Regions from separate parts of the Homo sapiens genome. Here region 2 is linked to region 1. The links are contacts of gene promoters, found by promoter capture Hi-C in human tissues and cell types (Jung and others, 2019). All regions are on one chromosome and are shown on one strand. The core of a region is centred on a gene start or on the middle of the fragment in contact, and the rest is flanking DNA. Distances in the headings are between cores, read along the strand shown.

Evidence for each region. Contacts are between HindIII fragments. The study calls those that stand out against the background at their distance.
Region 2: a fragment that was not itself captured here is called in contact with the fragment with the promoter of U2AF1 in region 1 in 5 of the 25 tissues and cell types used here (H1 embryonic stem cells, bladder, mesenchymal stem cells and 2 more).

Annotation. Positions count from the first base shown.
Region 1 is chr21:43,103,740-43,110,807 of GRCh38, forward strand. It overlaps U2AF1 (U2 small nuclear RNA auxiliary factor 1), which reads right to left and starts at 3,831. Exons shown (of 8, transcript NM_006758.3): 1 at 3,712-3,831; 2 at 576-663. The coding sequence starts at 3,755. LOC101928369 (a long non-coding RNA gene) reads left to right here and starts at 3,951. Exons shown (of 5, transcript XR_937770.3): 1 at 3,951-4,356; 2 at 5,603-5,777. The HindIII fragment of the contact is 4,947 bases long and covers 374-5,320 here.
Region 2 is chr21:43,028,577-43,035,868 of GRCh38, forward strand. PKNOX1 (PBX/knotted 1 homeobox 1) reads left to right here. Exons shown (of 11, transcript NM_004571.5): 10 at 126-298; 11 at 1,314-5,355. The coding sequence ends at 1,525. Among named protein-coding and RNA genes, the nearest start is that of CBS, 44 kb to the right of the region's middle. The HindIII fragment of the contact is 5,777 bases long and covers 876-6,652 here.

The DNA.
Region 1 (7,068 bases), core at 2,581-5,080:
TTTACGGCCCATTTTCTACCTTTCAGCTTAATTTTTCATGTTTCCATGACGTGATGCGACTCGCTGTTTCCTCAGCTAGGGATGTGAAAGTGAGGACGCAGCCAGAGAAGCTCGAGCAGCATGATGGGCCTGGTGACAATCACGCTAACTTGGAAGGTGGCTCCATCACCTCTACTGTCTGGAGACAGCAAAGAGCAGAAAGCCCACTCCGTGTCCACTGGTGCCTGGAGGAGGCTAACCCAAGGCTGGCACGGCCACCCCCTCTGGACCCATGTCTATCAGAGGGGGTAGGGAAGATGGCAGGGCAGCAAATATCAGGCACAGCCAACACACAAACATCAAAAACTGATTTTTAAAGTTTCTCTAATGATAAAAACAAGGAGTGGTGGTCTCAGACCTTCCACTGGAAGTCGATCACCTGCCTCACTATTATTTAAATAAAAGAACACACTTATGAACACAAATGGAAAATACAACTACGAGAGAAAAAATGACTTGCTTAATATGTAGAAATTAACTGTCTTTGAAAAGAACATGAAGTTTTTATAATTTACATGAAAAAAAGGCAAACAAACCTGGCTAAACGTCGGTTTATTGTGCAACCGAGAGCACCTGTCTCCATGACGACATGCTCCAATTTTGAAATAAAATGAACAGTTGACTCTGTAAGGGAAAATGAGAGCTGATTATTTTGCTGGGAAGATATCAAACACATGGAATATGTCAGCAGCATGACATACACTATCAAATTACTTTTAACCTCACAGAAACATGACACAGACTTTTTTCCGTGGTATTAAGCACCTCCTCTTCCTTGCTGTATTTTAGGACAACGTAACTTCAACTTCCCTTTCTGCAAACACACTACTTGTTCAGCAAAGACGGTTCTAACTCTAACCCGCCTCCTCCTCATTCAAATCCCCTCCACTTTCCTAACTGCACAGCTGTTCTGTTTGTTTCTTAAATGGAGTATTAAATTAGTCTAAAACTAAATGTAACTTAGGCAGTATCTGTTCTCCAGTTCTCCACGACCAAGTTCTCTCTTGAAAACACCGGTGTGGTGAGGGTTAAGATCCCAACTCTGCTACCAGCTGCTTGGGCTTGGGCAAGTCACCCTAGCTCTCAGATGTCATCTGTAAATGATGACAATGCCAATGTGGCACTGTTCTGAGAGTCAGACAGAACGTATGTGTGCTTCACATATGGTGCTCATGAAGTGCTATCATTATCTAAGGAAAACAGAAAACGAAGTTCAGAGTCTCTCTAAACGCATGACACCAGACCAACAGGGAGTTTCAAAAAATAGGTCTGAAGTAAATCAATTCTCCTGGTCTCAATACACTGAAAACAAACTATTAGGGGACTGACCGAACCCACCTTAGGAACCACCTTACGTCACCTTCTGTCTCTACTGCAAAACCCTCCCTTAATACTGTTCAAATACGCTGACAATCCAGATCCATATCCAATGGAACCAGCAATCATGCCTGTGTGCCAGCAATGTCAGGGAGGGAAGCCGATCTCTGATGAATTAGGACATCTTACCAGACAGACTTTGTTCAAAATTCAATTTTTTTTTAACCAAGTGCCATTATGTTTTAAACAGTCAATCCAGAGTTAAGATTGAAGGGCCTCAACCTCAGTGAAATCTAATGGACCATGAAGACTGACTAGCCACTGATTTATTATCAGGTAGCAATAAAGATGGGAAAGTCCAAATTTATCAGGAGAGGAAAGTGATTATATATATTTGCAAACTTACAGGTCTTGAGATTATTTAACTTGATTAGACAATAGCATATCTTTAGGAAGTCATCTAAAAATAAAGAAAGCTTATTTAAAAACTACCTCAGAATGGGCAAGCCCTGGGCCTCAACAATTAATATCCAATTATTCCACACAATTAAACTACAGACAAGCTATTAGGATATCCCTGAATCTAGAAAACATCTATAACTTCAAACATATAATAAGCTAAACATTTTTTAATTGGTAGAGATCTATATTTTATTCTTAGCTTAAATAATAATTAAAGTTAATATGAACCATCAGCTTCATTTTTCAGGAGTTGATCCTGTTCCCTGGAAGCTAAAACCCCACGTCTCCCTGAAAAGAAAACACAAGTAACCTAGATTAAATAATCAACTTTTCTGAATTAAAACCATGACCTTTATAGTATAGCCCAATAGATTGAAATGTGGTTGCTTATAGCAGAAATATAGGGAGATAGACTTTTACAAGACAGAAGTCATGCCACATGCAAATATGAAAAGGAGAAATTAATGATGCCCCGATCCTACATGTGTTAGTTCTTCACCCTAAACTCAGAAGAGTCTCTTGTTCCGATAGAGCTGGTCTATTCATTCGCCAAGATCATACCGTGAGTTCCTTAAGGATAATATCCAAATTTTACCCATGTTTAAGTCTCCAGAAACTGACCTATAGTTGACCCCCACTAAATGTTTCTGGAGTGACTATAACTGGTAGATTTTGGCTTAAAATTTTGCTAGAAATATAGCCTCCTCATCCAAACAACACAGGAGATTCTACCATGTGTGAAGAGGACATTTTACAAGATAGACTCCATCCTGGAAAAGAGAAACATTTTAAATAGCGTTTGAAAAAAGTGGCATTAAAAACATCTATGACAAACTTAGGGGTTTATCATTGAAAACATAAAGTCATGTTAACTTTGTATGGCACTGAAGAATGCCAAGATAACTAAAGAGTAGATTAAGCCAGATGCTGAGTCTTTAGGTTTTCAAAGTAAGAATTATCCTTCAAACGTCTGAAAACATTCCATTTAGTCTAAACTACAGCCAACTCACTGGAAATTAGTACGTGCCAAGGTGGCAATTAAAGCTGAAATTAAATGTTTTGCTTTTAACCTAACGATTGATTAGGGAAGGCATGCAACCTTAAGGAAAAAATCAAAACATCTTTTTCCTTATATCAGAATTGTGTCTTCAAGAACAGTCACCGACTTACAAATTTTCAACTTAGATGATGGGTTTATCGGGGTATTAAAGGCATTTTCGATTCATGATGGGTTTATCGGAACGCAATCCCATGGTAAATCCAGGAGCACCTGTATGTTAAGAGCGGATCACGTCTCTTGTGGTTAGATAGTTAATCCAGTAGTCTCCACCATACTTTTTCTCGTCATATCTCCTTACTGCCGGCCCAGCGGTCGCTTAAACAGGCAAGAGGCTGGCTAAGTGGATAAAACACCAACGCTTAGGACCCTAAGTTAGATAAGCGACTGAATACTGGCGAGGCTGGTACCAGAGCTTGCTCGACAGGACATTCACAGCCGAAAGTTGGAACAAACGTGTCCACGTCCAAAAGGCCCGGATGCTCCAGGCAACTTTCAGCGCGGCTCGAGGCGGCTTCCGGGAGTCGGCGACTCGGAGGCCCGGACGTCGGGCGATCAGCCAGTCCGGACCCCAAGGCCGGAGAAAGCTCGGCCGCGGCGCCCCGAAAAGAGACCCCATTCATTCTGCCCGCTCCAGTTTTCCGCCGCGCGGCCCACGAGGCGGCGGCTCCGGAGGGCGCGCAAGGGGCCGGAAGGGCCACCGCTCCTTCCCGCCGCGCGCCCCTCCCCCGCCACCGCCGCGCCGGCCCGCCTGGGCCTCCCCGGTCGCCCTCCCACCGCCTCAACCACCCTGCGCCCCGATCGCGCCCAACCCCCGGCGGGGGGCTCCCACTCACTTGTCTTTCTCGGTGCCGAAGATGGAGGCCAGATACTCCGCCATTTCCCACCCGCCGCCGCCGCTGCCGTCGACACTGCTGCCGACGCCGCCGACCCTGCCGACGCCCTCGGGAGACGTCACCCGGACGCGACGACGCTCTTCCCCGCCCCGACGTGGCAGCGCTACCCAGTCAGGCGAGGTGCTGCCTGCGCGTGGGCGGGACGCATGCGCGTAGGGAGCACGTAGTGCGCGTGGGAGGCTCCGCCTTTTCGGTCCTGGGAACCCGCGCCCCCTGCCGGTGCCCTCCCCGCCCGGCCCTAGCTCTCTCGCCTTCTCGCCCGCCCGGCGCTGGCCCTGCTGGATCCTGCGCGCCGGGGACTGGGGGCTGGCAGTGCAGACCGAACCCGGGGCCGAGGGGCTTCTCCACAGAGCCGCCTGGGGCTCGGTGGGGGGCGCTCAGCTCGACCCCAGCTAAGGGAGCACTAGGAAGTGCGGGCGTCCCCTTCCCTGCACCCTTGCGGGGCGGGAACCGTCGACCTAGAAGAAAAAAAAAGCTGAGGCAAACTTGATATAAGTAGAGAGGTTATTTGGGCCAAGTTTGAAGATTGCAACCCGGGAGCATAGCTTCAAGTTGCCCTGAACATAGGATTTGCAACAGTGACAAGTGGGTTTATAAAGCTTAAGAGGGGGGCAGTTCTTAAATAGCTCACCAAGAATTTACATGAAAATAACAAGCTATTAATTGGCTGTACGTTGTTCTTTATATCATAATTCCAGGAAAGGAAGTTCATGGGTGAAGGCAGCGGGTCCGGAGCAATAGTGCCTTTAAACAATTGCCAGGCATGGGTGGGGACCGCTGAAGCCGCATAGACCTGTCTCTCCGGGCCGGATTAACCTCGCACGCCTCACATAGCTCGGACGCTCTGTGTTGTTTTTCTCTTCTCACACCCCTCTCCGCTTTACCCTCCCTCAGCGCTTGCCAGGTGCGACCTCCCCGGGGCCCTGCACTCTTGCAGTTGCCTGGCCAAGGCCACCCACAGGTGGAGCTGGAAGGCCAGTGACCTGCCTCTGGGATACCCTTTCAGTCTCCTCATGTCACAAGGCTGGAACCATTCCGTTGGAAGGGTTCTATTCCTCTCCTGCGTTTTAACCCCATCAAGCAGCCATTTTCATCTGGTTTCCCACATTCATCAACTCACCTGCGATTTACCTAATTTCCAACGCAACTATCAACTCTGATTAGGTAGAAGTCAGAGAGACAGGGCCTATTTTACTTACCTCCTCCACAAGATGAGCCCCAGACTGTGGGGCAGGACCATGGGATCCTCTTAGCTCGGCTAGAGCTGAATGCTGAGCTCTAGTGTTTGGGCGGATTTGCGTGTTAGAATTGCATTTCTCTTGGCAACAGAGCATCTTCCTACCTGGGAAAGATGAGCAAACTGGAAACCTGTATTAGAAACAGTAGGGCCTCAGAGGTTTAAACCAAAAAGTATCTTGAGACAGGGCTCAATCAATTTAGAAGTTTATTTTGCCAAGGTTAAGGACAATGCCTGGGAGGAAAAAAAACACGGTATCACAGAAACAGTCTGTGGTCTGTGCCTTTCTCCAAAGATGACTTTGAGGGCTTCAGTATTTAAAGGGGAAAAGTGGGCTGGAGGGGAAAGCGGAACAGTGTGGTAATCCACACGTTGCAAGAGAAAAGAAGCAGGTTGGGAACAGTCGACTGTGTACAGCTCACTCCTCAGCAAATCAGCACTTTACATAAGAGAAGCGGATGTTGAACCTTCTATCTGTAGCCGTCTGCTTAGGAACGAAAGGAAAGGCAGCTGCTTACATGACTCAGCTTTCAGCTCATTCTTTTCCTTTTGACAGAGTGAACTGGGGTCCTGACTTTTGTGTTCCTTTCGCAGAGGTGAGGCCAGAGAAGTGACAAGACAGATGCCAGTCCAGCAGGTGGGCATGTCCAGAAAGTGCAGCCTCAGGACACGGTCTGGGAACAAAGACTGCTGGAGAGTTGGAAGCTGGCAAGAGGCTCTCAGCTGTGAAGTACCTGGGGTGGGGGAGAAGTGGTCGGAGAAAGCAGAGGTAAGGTCTGTGCGTGGGAACTGAACTGAAATCCACAGCTCTATTACAAGGAATTAATCTGGTTACTAGAACCAGGGTAGATGATCAGACCAGGCAGGGCCACCAGTACCATCCACCCATTTTTCCTGAGAAAAGAAAAATAGGGTAGTCTGAGCTCTGTGAGGTGTGCAGAATGATCAGGCCCAGAGAGGCAGGAGTGTGGGACTTCATTCAGCGCCTCTTCCACCATAGAAGCAACTGTCCAGGGCAATTGTTTGATGGAATTTTTGCTCCTGACAGGCTGCCTCACCCATTATCTTCTTGTTCACATGGAATTAGTGATGCTAAGAACGATGCATAGCCAATCAGCACCTTCTGTTATTTTAATGCAAATTCTTGCTAACAACTTAGGGACTGCCTCTTCCTTTTCCTTAAAACCCCACTGTGACTGCTGCTAATGGGAACATATGTTCAGGGCAACCTAGGGGCATGTGCCCAGGGAGCCATCCTCAAGCTTTGGGCTCAAATAAACTCTATACTTAATCATATTTCCTGAATTTCATTATTTGAGGTTGACATTTTGGCAACCCAGATAGGACCTGAAGCAGGCCTTCAGGGATTGCCACTAAGTAGTGGCATCAATAGTTGGAGCCTTGGTACCAGCACAAACGACTGTTGTTTACTCGACCTCACTGGGGCTGGCAGGGGTCTCTGGTAAGGCCAGTCTTGGGATCTGAATCCTCCCAGCTTAGTTGAAGATTGAGACTTACACACTAATAATTTGATAGGGTTAGAACTGAAGCTCCACTGAAAGGTAGGAGTTTCCATTTTTATTCTCTAGAGATTCTGTTGACTGCAGATTTGTGATTTTCACTTCTGTCTGAGGTTTTGCTTGTCTTTTTACAGTTTGCAGCCTTTTCTCTCATTCGAAATTTGGTCAAGGAGAAAGTGTCATCTTTAAAACTGGCCATATTCTGAAACTTGGTTCAACTGACAAATCTAAACATTCTTCTTCTTCTTCTTTTTTTTTTTTTTTTTTTTTTTTTTGAGACAGAGTCTCGCTCTGTCGCCCAGGCTGGAGTGCAGTGGCATGATCTCGGCTCACTGCAACCTCTGCCTCCTCAGTTCAGGCAGTTCTCTGCCTCAGCCTTCTAAGTAGCTGGGATTAGAGGCGCCTGCCACCATGCCCTGCTAATTTTTTGTATTTTTAGTAGAGTTGGGGTTTCACCATCTTGGCCAAGCTGATCTTGAACTCCTGACCTCGTGATCCCCCTGCCTCGGCCTTCCAAAGTGCTGGGATTACAGGCGTGAG
Region 2 (7,292 bases), core at 2,514-5,013, 75 kb before region 1:
GAGAACTTGAGTCATTCTTTGTAGCGTGCTTCGTAGAGCAGCGTGTTTGTTAGAAGGATTTGTTAATCCTGTATAGGGTCTTTACGAAGGCTGTTTTCATGGAAGCTTCTCTTTGTTGACTCCAGGTTCATCAATGCCAGAAGACGAATTCTTCAGCCAATGTTGGATTCAAGTTGTTCAGAGACCCCCAAAACAAAGAAAAAAACTGCTCAGAACCGGCCAGTTCAGAGGTTTTGGCCTGATTCTATTGCATCAGGAGTCGCACAGCCACCGCCGAGCGAGCTCACCATGTCGGAAGGTACAGGTGGCCGGCCAAGGCCAGACATGGTGGACCATGGGGTGGGGATTATGAACAAGAGGCCTGGATCAGGCCTGTTAGCTGTGAGCCTCAGGTAATGTGGTGAACGAGAGTGCGTGGTTCTCTTTCTCTGCAACTAAAACATGAGGAAGCTGCATTCTGCGTGCACGGGAGCTCTCAGTAAGAGTTAGGAGCACCAGTAGTAGAGAATGTAAAACACGTGATAGAGATATGAAATCATTAATTCTGTCTCAAAGACACAGTCATGCCCATGGATCTTCTCCTTTGCTTCTGTGTTTGCTCTCCTTTTCCCTCCGACGCCGGGTGTGGAGGAGGGACTTACCCCGTTCTCACCACGTGGCTTCTTTCTCTTCATCCCCCATGCCCTTCTCTTGTTTTTGCTTGTTCCCTGTGGCCTCTGCTCTCCATCCCCTGACGTAGGCAGCCATTCTGATGTGTTTTATAGGCATCTTTCTGTTCGCATGAGGTCTTCATATTTTGGATGGTTTTGTGTGCATGTGTTTTTATTTTTTTTTATTTGTTTGCTTTGTTTTTTTTTTTTTTTTTTTTTGAGACAGAGTCTCACTCTGTTGCCCAGGCTGGAGTGCAATGGCGCAATCTCGGCTCACTGAAACCTCTGCCTACCAGGTTCCCGCCATTCTCCTGCCTCAGCCTCCCGAGTAGCTCGGAGTAGCTACAGGTGCCTGCCACCACGCCCGGCTAATTTTTTGTATTTTTAGTAGAGACGGGGTTTCACCGTGTTCACCAGGATGGTCTTGATCTCCTGACCTCGTTATCCGCCTGCCTCAGCCTCCCAAAGTGCTGGGATTACAGGCATGAGCTACCGCGCCCGGCCCAGAAACAGTTTCTTAAATCCCTGTTGAACATTCCCTAAACATATATAGGTGTTTTATTTTAACTTTAGGTCAAACGAGCAAACAGCACCCAATTGAGTAATAAAGTGTTTTTCTGTGAGTACTAATTTAAATAATGACACACCTTCATCCTGCCGCAGGAGCTGTTGTCACCATCACCACGCCCGTGAACATGAACGTGGACAGCCTTCAGTCTCTGTCCTCGGACGGGGCCACCCTGGCGGTGCAGCAGGTCATGATGGCAGGGCAGAGCGAGGACGAGTCTGTGGACAGCACAGAGGAGGATGCGGGTGCCCTGGCCCCTGCCCACATCAGCGGGCTGGTCTTGGAGAACAGTGACTCCCTGCAGTAGGGGCAGGAGCAGACGCACCTGACTTTTTGGAGTTTGCACAGCAAACATTTTACACAGTTTTATTTCTAATATGTTTTATATGTAGATATAGAAGAGTGCACTTTTGTATTTCATAGTAAGCTTAAAGCGCGTCTTTGCCGGTGCAGCGACTTCTTTCAAGTGTGTGTGTGTGTGTGTGTGTGTGTGTGTGTGCGTGTGTGCGTGTGTGTGGATTTTTAAAGAAATTCTTTAAAGGTTTAACGCTAGATTGTGAGGAATGACACACCACTCCCTCCCCACCTTGAATCCCTAATTAGATTAAGGAATAGCGCTGCCATTTTCTAAACCGTGATGCGGTTGTCACTTAGTTCTGTGGTTCCAGCAGATCTCAGTGGGCTGGTTGATTTGTGTGGCCCATGGATTTGAAAGAAGCTGCTGCACCCGAAACTGCCAGTGTGCGGTGACAACGGCACACGCCTAGACTGAGTGTGGTTTCGTCGTGAGTGGATGGACGGCAAGCTTAGCAAGCCTAAGTCCCCTCATGTTCAGTGAGCCTGTTTCATTTGCTATATAGAAAAAGAAACTCCTATTTTTACCTTGCTGGAATTATTGGATAAAAAAGCTATTTTTATAAATTCGTTATGAATTGGATGATGACTATATTGAGGATAAAATTTCTAGAGAAGAAACAATACATGCTTGCTATTAATATTTCAATTTGGAATGTTCTGAATTGACCAAATTTAATGAACCTGCCCAAAGTTAGCTACCGTTCCATGGTTCTTTGCTCTCCCCGGGTAGTGATGAACATTTACTACTATAAAAGAAACAGCTATTTAATGAAATTTTGATATCTGCAAATTTTTGTTGATATGTAATGCTCAGATTGCATTTTACACTTGATCTAAACATATATCGAAAGATATCTGCTAAACAGGACTTCAGGTAAGTGAGGTGAAATGGTAGCCAGTGACCCGTTAGGAGCTCTCACCGTACATACTCCAGTCTAATTTAAATCTGACCACAGTTGCATGGTCGCTTTACCATGTTAGCTGTGTATTGTTTTAAAAGTTTTAACTTCAAAATATGTTATGCACAGAATGTTTATTATAAACTAATATAAAATGTGCTCTACCCCATTGGCTCAGAGCTAGGGCAAACAGCAGATATTCAGACTTTATTACTTAACTAGCGGACATCCCTGGAGTCCCAGCAGCGAGCTGGTCTGGCGAGGGCACCTCGGCAGCCCCCACGGGTTGGCTCCTACGTTTGCGTTTGTGGCTGGTCTCCTGGTGTCAGTGTTCTCTTGTACGTTGTTGCTTTCGACTTTTCAGAGCCCTCCTGCTCACTTGACCACGTGAGATTTGGAATAACTGTAGGACTTCTGTTTCCTGGTAACAAGATGAACCGAGAGAGTGGGCTGGGTTCTGTTTTCTTTGGTTTTGATTTGTTTTCATTGTTTACTTAGGAGTGGTGCTTTTTCTCAGAAAACAGGCCACGGTGTTTCATACAGAATGTCTTCATATCATCTGAAATGGTATGGCTGAAGTTCATTTGTTTACAGGGTCGGGAATGTCTTCAGTTCTTGAGAGTCAACAGTAATGATTGGTTGTAAGCCAAGGGACATTTTAAGCTAGTGAAGAGTTTTTTCTGGAATTGATTTTTCCCAAAAGAATATATTAATTGAGGTTAAGAAGTCAGTGGGAAACACACAGAAATTTGTTTTAAAATCTTTCAGGAGCTTTACTGAAAGACTTGGTTATCAAGTCTTTTGGGGAGAGAATGACATTTTTTTTTTGAGACAGAGTTTTGCTCTTGTTGCCCAGGCTGGAGGGCAATGGTGCAATCTCAGCTCACTGCAACCTCCACCTCTTATGTTCAAGCAATTCTCCTTCCTTAGCCTCCTGAGTAGCTGGGATTACAGGCATGCGCCACCACACCCGGCTAATTTTGTATTTTTAGTAGAGATGGGTTTCTCCATGTTGGTCGGGCTGGTCTCGAACTCCCGACCTCAGGTGATCTGCCTGCCTCAGCCTCCCAAAGTGCTGGGATTACAGGTGTGAGCCACCGCGCCCGGCCGAGAATGACATCTTAAAGCCACCATTGCGTTCCTCATTTGTGAACTGTCTTCTCATATTTTAAGTCAAGTCTATAAGATCATTTTTAACCTAAGTTCCAACTTTGTTGGACTCCTTAAAATAAGCACCCATGAAAGCCAGCCAGCCCTTCCTCCTTCCCTCACCACCCTCCGTCTCTTCGGCTGCTTGCTCTTTAGTGTAGATTAGTGGAAGCCATTCACAGAATGTAGACTCATGTATAGGTCACCGTTTCTTTCCCCCACTAGAAATCACATTCACTAAGCAGTGGATTGAATTTAAGAGTGCTGCCCCTGCCCGGCGCAGTAGGGCGTGCCTCTAGTTCCAGCTACTCGGGAGTCTGAGGCAGAGGATGGCATGTGCCAGGAGTTTGAGGCTGCAGTGCACTATGCTTGCACCTGTGAATAGCCACTGCACTCCATCTTGGGCAACACAGTGAGACCCCCATCTATAAAAAGAGAGCACTGCCTGAACCTCGGTGGCACTGGGAAGCTCTGGCCTGAGAGTTAAACACCCATGCTGAATGATACAGTGTGCATTCTCTCCAGCTGCAAACTTTCTTCAACTTTCCTAAATTCTTACTAAATTCAGAGGAATAGGATAAAGATCACTTAGAGAAAGGGTGCTTATGGACATAGCCTGAGTTTCCTTTAACCTCTCTGCAATGGGTGCTTTTAACTAGCTTCTACATGGCAAGCTGTTTCAGTTTGCAAAATCACTGCCCAGCATGTTTGAGGTCAGTTGGCACCTTAAAACACCTGTTCTCCAGCCCTTGGACAGTGGAGAGAATCTGTAAAAGTGTGACCCCCTCTAAGATTTCGTTTTAAATGATCAGATTCGGTTCCAGTTTTATTCTTGTTGAGTTTTTCCCTATGAAGGCTCCTTTTGAATGTGTCTTGAGACCCAAATTGAGCATGTTGCTGTTATTCCTGCCCTGCACCTGTGGAGCAGGAGTGGCAGGGCTGGCTGTGCTGGGTTCCAGCTCGCTCCCACCGAGGGACTAGCTTGGCCTTTGCGCTTTGATTCCAGATAGTAAGATGAGTGGAAGTGTTTATCGAGCATGCAAAAGAAACCCTCACGGCTAAGGGCTCTGGGAGTTGTGTCTGTGTGACCTGAGAGTGATCCATCTCCTGCCTGTGTGAGGTAGCAGTGGGCACTTTTCATTGAGACAAACTCCAGGGTGTCCAGAGGGGGTTCTGCCCCTTGTGAAGGCCCATTCCTGGCACTTAGAGACAGAAAGAACTCAGCAATCTTTCGTTCTAGTTATATTCGGTCTTTGAAACTGACAATCTTTGAAATGTGAATACTGTAACAATATGTTTTCTTGGATTGTTGTCTTTAAAAAGGATTTTTGTGAAGCAATTGATTTATCAAAGCAAAAAAATTAAAAATAGAAACTTGCTTTATGGATGTTTTATTTTATAAAGCTCATGTCACCAAAAGCTGCTTCTCCATTTTATGTAAAACATTGAGAATGTTTTCATGTTTTCTGGTGACATGTAGGGTCTGTAGTCACCCCTGCATATTGAGAAACTAGGACCACACTGCATCGGACTAGTCAGGTCCATTTACATGTCCAAGAATCTTTTCTTAAATTCCTTACTTTGTTCATTCATTGGCTGTTCAGGCAGAAAATGGAAACAGGTAGCTTTTATGTTTTTTATTATAGTTTTCCACAAATCTAATTATTTTGATAGTTACAAGAAGATAATGATTCATCAGTAAGCTAACATAATCCCTTTCATAGTTCATATTATAAATTTTCATGACAAGAAAGTTCCTGAAGATTTAAAAGGTACATTAAAACAATTTCAGAGGGTTTTTAATCTTTGTTGTCCAGAGTGTTATAACTCCCAACAACTGTTCATGCTTAGAGGCTAAAGTCAGCAGACTTAGTATTTTAAAAACCACATGCAAAATTATGAGTCTTGTTGGTAATTAGTAGTGACAGCTGACTGTATTGTTTCAAGCAATGTTTTCATTGGTTACAGAAAACTGAGGCACTGTGTTGTATTTCCAGCTCCCTTAGTTCAGAGGTGAGAGGACGGGCATGAACTTTATTAATGTGGGGCCTCAGGCAGCCCCAGTCTCTCTAGGCTTCCAGGGCTTCATTTATGAAAAGGAAGAACTGGCTTATAAGGTTTATTCTAGCCTTACAATGATGTTTATGACTAATAAGATTCTATCTCTCCATCTAAAGACTGATGAGGAAGTGAGTAATGGTCTAGCAAATCCAGAAAATAAGAAATATTTGGATTAAATATTTAGTGTTTCACAGTTTTTGAATTATATGAATGTCATAAACAATGTCTACTGTTTTTAGCTTTCATGCCATTCTATTATGTATACTCTCAGAAGAAATTCTTAGTACAAGGCCGGGCGCGGTGGCTCCCGCCTGTAATCCCAGCACTTTGTGAGGCCAGGGTGGGCGGATCACCTGAGGTCAGGAGTTTGAGATCAGTCTGGCCAACATGGTGAAACCCCATCTCTACTACAAACACAAAAATTAGCCAGGCATGGTGGCAGGCACCTGTAATCCCAGCTACTCGGGAAGCTGAGGCAGGAGAATCTCTTGAATCCGGGAGGCGGAGGTTGCAGTGAGCTGAGATTGTCCCACTGCACTCCAGCCTGGGGCATAGAGCGAGACTCTGTCTCAAAAAAAAAAAAAATTCTTAGTACAAATTATTTTTGCCCTTGTACAGTGGGATATTTTTACCTTCACTAAGACCTAGGATAGTTGTTTAACTATCATTGTTTATAAAATCTGCGAGACTAGTGACTATATAGCATCTAAGCACATGTGACTGAAAGCAGTGAATGCCCGGGGTGGCATCTGGGCCTGGGGCCAGCTTTTCCCAATCCCACGTCTTCACCATGCAGCCCAGGTCGGGTCTGGCACCTGCAGGCTCCTCTCTGCCAGGCCTCCTCAGGTCTGGCTTTTGTAGTCTATAAAGGACTAGTTAGTGTTGCTTACTTGGATAATTTGTAAGTATTCTGTATAAAAATCGTATTTAGAAGGTATTATCTTATACAGATGTTTCCATTCTTTATCTCCCACAGCAACCCACACTCTCATGGCTTCTGCTGCGGGAAGCGCTCCTTCCTGGGATTCCCTGGCACAGTTCAGATGAGTATTTCTCCACCTTCACTGGCTGCTCTCCTCTAGCTCCACAGTCTCTACAACCCAGGTCTACACTAACACACAAGACAATGTAAACTGTTAAGGGCTTCACAACTTATTTCTGACATGGATTGCTGTGTTAAGATAATATGAAAGAAAACTCAGTGAATATAAAGTAAAATATTTTAAAATATAACTGATTTTTCTACAGGCCATTTTCTAAAAATGTCTAAGCAGCTAAGGACTTCAACCCTGTAAAAAGCAAGAATGGTTTTAATATAAATCAGGAATTCTAGACCGGGCGTGGTGGCTCACACCTTTAGTCCCAGCACTTTGGGAGGCCGAGGCAGGCAGATCACCTGAGGTCAGGAGTTTGAGACCAGCCTGGCCATCACGGAGAAACCTGGTCTCTACTAAAAATAAAAAAATTAGTCGGGCATGGTGGTGGGTGCCTGAAATCCCAGCTACTCGGGAAGCTCAGGCAGGAGAATCGCTTGAACCCAGGAGGTGGAGATTGTAGTGAGCCGAGACCACGCCACTTCACTGCAGTCTGGGCGACAGAGCAAGGCTC